Linked DNA regions of Homo sapiens: region 1 is linked to region 2. The links are contacts of gene promoters, found by promoter capture Hi-C in blood cells and fetal thymus (Javierre and others, 2016). All regions are on one chromosome and are shown on one strand. Each heading gives the region's core, a stretch centred on a gene start or on the middle of the fragment in contact. The rest is flanking DNA. Distances are from core to core; before and after follow the strand shown.

Region 1 (2,700 bases), core at 137-2,636, 67 kb after region 2:
GGGAGGCCAAGGTGGAAGGATCGCTTGAGCCCGGGAGTTTGAAACCAGCCTGGGCAACATGGTGAAACCCCGTCCCTACAAAAAAATTGGCTGTGTGCGGTGGGTCACACCTGTAATCCTGGCACTTTGGGAGGTCGAGGCAGGCGGATCACCTGAGGTCAGGAGTTCAAGACCAGCCTGGCCAATATGGTGAGACCCTGTCTCTACTAAAAATACAAAAATTTGCCAGACGGTGGCACATGCCTGTAATCCCAGCTACTCGGGAGGCTGAGGTAAGAGAATCACTTGAACCCGGGAGGCAGATGTTGCAGTGAGCCAGCATTGCACCACTGCACTCCAGCCTGAACAACAGAGCGAGACTCTGTCTAAAAAAAAAAAAAAAAAAAAAACCAAAAAATTAGCTGGGCATGGTGGCATGTGCCTCTAATCCCAGCTACTTGGGAGGTTGAGGTGGGAGGATCGCTTGAGCCCAGGAGGTTGAGGCTGCGGTGAGCTGTGATCACACCACTACACTCCAGCCTGGGCAACACAGTGAGACCCTGTCTCAAAAAAAAAAAAAAAAAAGATATGGATAAAGTAAGAATGAAAAAGTTCTGCATGTGTACCTTAGGAATTCTGTAAGCCATGCATGAGCTGGAGTTCTGAGTGCTGACGTTTGTTATGGCTGCCCACAGGCCTTTTTTGCTCCTGCTCCATGCCAGGTATTGACCTCCAGGTAAGGGTTTTCTATTTGTGTCTGAAATGAGAGTACTGCAGGAAGAAAGGATTTTAAGCTGGAATGTTATTTGGTTAAGACCTGAAACCAAATGGTTTTCAGTAAGTCATTGTCTCTGTGGTGGTGAGGATAGGGCAGCCTCTCTATGTGCCCTCAGAAGGTGAAAGGGACTATAGCTACTCCTAGACAGTCTCCACTTTTAAAAAGCCTGTAAGTAGGATCCTGCCTAATAAAGCAGTTTTGTTTTGCTTAAAGCCACCATTCACATTGCATACTCAATCTAAAAATTCCTGGAAGCTGGAAACCCGTGAAACTCAGGGTCCTGGTGAGGACTTGAGTATGCCTGTTTGGGGTACAGTAATGCTCCATTTATCTGGCATTGTCATGGAATCAGTTTTTTCCTACATAAATGACACTTCCAGATAATTGAAGCTTTCTGTCTACACTTCCGCCCTCACCACCGTTAAAACCTCTGAATTGTAATTCTTTGGGATTTTTTTCTTCACAGTATTTGGTACATGTTCATGGCTTCTGAGCACCCAGAACTTTAGAAGGACAACTGTAGCCTTGTCTAGATGATGGTGATTCAGACCTGTCATCTGGAATATTGGTGAATTTAAGTGATGTCCTCAAAGGCTCTGTCGCTTTCAGACTCTCTACCCCTTCTCCTGGCGCCATCGAGTCCTGTCTCTCAATTTGGTGTCTCTGCTTGCGTGTCTTGTTTTTCTCTCCTCTGTCTCTGCCAGTGGTCACCATTCTCCTTTCCATCCCATCCCTGCATACTTGAGACATCCCCTTCCTGGACTTTTTTTCCATTTAATTTGAGATGAGTTCATTATAGTTTTATCTAAGAAAAATATTCTGAGAAATGGCTTCAGGGATTTTCCCATGAGTGTTGCTTATAAGCTTCGTGTGATGGGCAGAAGTTTTGGATTTCAGCTGAGTAGAGGGAGGCCTTTCTCTCACCTCTTCCTTTCCATCCTGCTGCTCCAGATTCCCGCTTGGAGCCATACCAGGGCTATTGATTAGTGACAGCATGTAAATAGCTGACCCCAGTTTCCGTTATGAACAACAAAGCAAGTGAGACACATGGTCCTCTTCCCCTGCTGTGCATGCAGTGGGCACAGCGCTGTTAGCTCCTTTGGGGTGCCCTCATCTGCAGCCCATTTTATTCCTTCAGCCTGGAAGCAGGATGGTGTTGGGAAAGCTGTTTTAAACCATTCTGTATTCTTTGTTACTTACATTCACATCTGGAATTTTTGTGCATAAAAGGGTTATTTGGAACTTCTTGATGAACTCAAAGAATCAGCTGCATTTGCAAAAATCTTTTTTTTTTTTTTTTTTTGAGACGGAGTCTGGCTCTCTCGCCCAGGCCGGAGTGCAGTGGAGCTATCTCGGCTCACTGCAAGCTCTGCCTCCCGGGTTCACGCCATTCTCCTGCCTCAGCCTCCCAGGTAGCTTGGACTACAGGCGCCCGCCACCGCGCCTGGCTAATTTTTTTGTATCTTTAGTAGAGACAGGGTTTCACCGTGTCAGCCAGGATGGTCTCAATCTCCTGACCTCGTGATCTGCCCGCCTCGGCCTCCCAAAGTGCTGGGATTACAGGCGTGAGCCATTGCGCCCAGCCGCAAAAATCTTATAATGAAAACTTTTTTTTAATGAGGCTGGCTGATCATTGGGAAACAATTTCATCTTTGAACAAAAACCAAATGAAAGTGGGGAAAAGTAGCTTTGCTTCTCAAATTTTAGGAAATGCACCCCCTCCTTTTTTTTTTTTAATGAGACAAGGTCTTGTTCTGTTGCACAGGCTGGAGTGCAGTAGTGCGATTATCATTCACTGTAGCCTCCACCTCCTGGGCTCAAGTGATCCTCCTGCCTCAGCCTACTGGGTAGCTAGGACTACAGGTGTGCGTCGCTACTCCTGGCTGATTTTTGGTTTTTTGTTTTTTTAGAGATGGAGTCTTGCTATGTTGCCCAGGCTGGTC
Region 2 (2,700 bases), core at 64-2,563:
AGTAGGTGTATATATTTATGGGTTACATGAGATATTTTAATACAGGCATGCAATGCATAATAATCAAATCAGGGTAAGTAAGGTATCCATCACCTCAAGCATTTATCCTTTGTGTTACAAACAATCCTATTATACTTTTTTTTTTCTTTTTAGACAGAGTTTTGCTCTTGTTGCCCAGGCTGGAGTGCAATGGCGCAACCTCGGCTCACTGCAACCTCCACCTCCGGGGTTCAAGAGATTCTCTTGCTTCAGCCTCCCGAGTAGCTGGGATTACAGGCATGCACCACCACGCCCAGCTAATTTTGTATTTTTAGTAGAGACAGGGTTTCTTCATGTTGGTCAGGCTGGTCTCGAACTCCCGACCTCAGGTGATCCACCCACCTCGGCCTCCCAAACTGCTGGGATTACAGGCGTGAACCACCGCGTCTGTATTATACTCTTTTGGTTATTTTTAAACGTACAATTATATTATTTTTGACTGTAGTCACCCTGTTGTGCTAGCAAATACTTGGTCTTATTCATTCTTTCTCTTTGCTTTATTACAAAGCAATAGATTTGCCTTCTCAGGTTGTGAGTGTTCAAATAAGTTAGTCTATAAAGCACTGATAAATACTAGGTGCTATTTTAAGCGGTAATCATTTACATGTCATCACGGCATTTATACAACATAGCACACATTACTTTTATCTGCTTTCTTGTGTGTCACCTCCCTGCCTTACTAGAATATAACCTCCACGAGGGCAGGAGAATGATTGGTTTGTTCACTGCTGTATCCGCCAGGGCCTGGCATACAGAACCGTACCCGGCATTCAGAAGGCGCTCAATAAATATATGTTGAATTCAATAAATGAACTGAGGTCTGGAGAGGCAGGAAACGCTTTGGCTTTCATGAATTCTGCAAATATTTACTGAGCACCCACTCAGCACCAGGCAATAGGCTGTCTCATTTTTACAATATTAGCTTGAGACTCTGGCAGGAGGGAGATTTAAATATCAAGTTTTTAGAATAAGATACACAGTGTGAAATGCAGTTTTAAGCGGACACTCCGCTGGGTTTTGAGAGATGCACACTCCCATGTACCTACACTGCCATAAAGAAATAGACCATTGCTTCATCCGGCAGGGCGAGGACTTGGAGCCCAGGTGGCACGAAGGCAACTGACCCGCGGGGTGCTGGTCGCAGGACCCTGCCTCCGGGGGCTGAGGGGGCAACGGCCGGCGGGCGGGCGGGGGCGAGACTACAAGTCCCAGGGTGCTTTGCGCGCCCGCGGGCCGTGCGGAGCGAAGGGGCGGTGCGGAGGGGGTAGGGGGCGCAGCGGCCGCGGCGCGGAGGCGCAGGGCGCGGGCGCCTACGGTTGGCGCGCGGTAGCGATGCCGGGGGCCGGAGCCCGGGCGGAGGAGGGCGGCGGCGGCGGCGAGGGCGCGGCGCAGGGGGCGGCCGCGGAGCCCGGGGCGGGTCCGGCGCGGGAGCCAGCGCGGCTGTGTGGCTATCTGCAGAAGCTGTCGGGCAAGGGCCCCCTGCGTGGCTACCGCAGCCGCTGGTTCGTGTTCGACGCGCGCCGCTGCTACCTTTACTATTTCAAGAGTCCGCAGGACGCGCTGCCCCTCGGCCACTTGGACATCGCGGACGCCTGCTTCAGCTACCAGGGCCCCGACGAGGCGGCGGAGCCGGGCACGGAGCCGCCCGCGCACTTCCAGGTGCACAGCGCGGGAGCCGTCACGGTGCTCAAGGTGGGACCGCTCGCCCCAAAGCCGCCCGCGCGCTTCCGCCGGCGTCCCCTGCCTCCGCCACTGGCTTGCGCCATCCACCCTCCTTCCTCCAAGGCCTCCTCGCCCCTGCCCACGTCGGCCTGCCTTTCCCTGCTTCTCCACATCCCGCCCTCGTTCCTATCTCCTCCCCACTATCTGGGCTTAGGCCAGTCTCGCTGGGGCTACCAAGCCCCGTCTCCTTTCTCAGACACCTTGACCCATTATCTCCCTCTGCGCCTAACCTCGGGCCAGTCTCTGGTGTCTCCCGACCCCCACCATCCCGTGGATGTCCTGTGCAGCCTTCCCAGGCATCCGTGAGCGTAGGCTTCTACCCCTGGGGCCTCCTTTAGAACTTTGCCTATGGCCTTGGTACCTCAGTGAACCGCTCTGGGCTGCAGCGGCCTCCTCTGTAAAATGGGATAACAGTAGTATCTACCTCATGGGGTGTTGGGATTAAATGAATTATACTTTAAACTGCTCAGTAAATGTCAGTGCTTTTATTTATTTGTTTATTTATTCTTTTTGAGACAGGATCTTGTTCTGTTGTCCAGGCTGGAGTGCAGGGGTGCGATCTCGGCTCACTGCAGCCTCCATGCCTGGGCTCAAGAGATCCTCCCACCTCAGCCTCCCAAGTAGCTGGGACCACAGGTGCGGGCCACCACGCCTGGCTAATTAAATTTTTTTTTTTTTTTAAAGAAACGGGGGTCTCACTATGTTGCCCAGGCTAGTCTCGAACTCCTGGGCCGAAACCATCCTCCCCATCCAGCTTCCCAAAGTGCTGGGATGCCAGGCGTGAGCCAGAGTGCATTTAGCACTGTAGACAGAAAGAGTCAGATGGCAGGGCCCTTAGAGACAGTCCACTACATTTTCCTCCAGAGTGGACGGGGATGCTCCAGCTAAGGTCACACAGCCAGTAGGTGGCAGATCCTGTGTTCTTCCTCCTTGCTTTGT

The links. Contacts are between HindIII fragments. The CHiCAGO score rates a contact against its expected background, and 5 or more counts as called.
Region 1: a fragment that was not itself captured here is called in contact with the fragment with the promoter of TBC1D2B in region 2 in 15 of 17 cell types (total CD8 T cells, activated CD4 T cells, naive CD8 T cells and 12 more); the score reaches 11.7 in total CD8 T cells.

What each region holds. Positions count from the first base shown.
Region 1 is chr15:78,009,335-78,012,034 of GRCh38, reverse strand. All of the region lies in intron 9 of TBC1D2B (TBC1 domain family member 2B), which reads left to right. Among named protein-coding and RNA genes, the nearest start is that of TBC1D2B, 67 kb to the left of the region's middle. The HindIII fragment of the contact is 474 bases long and covers 1,150-1,623 here.
Region 2 is chr15:78,076,324-78,079,023 of GRCh38, reverse strand. TBC1D2B (TBC1 domain family member 2B) reads left to right here and starts at 1,313. Exons shown (of 13, transcript NM_144572.2): 1 at 1,313-1,731. The coding sequence starts at 1,372. RefSeq lists silencers at 1,028-1,077, 1,228-1,437, 1,638-1,837. The HindIII fragment of the contact is 13,244 bases long and covers 1-2,700 here.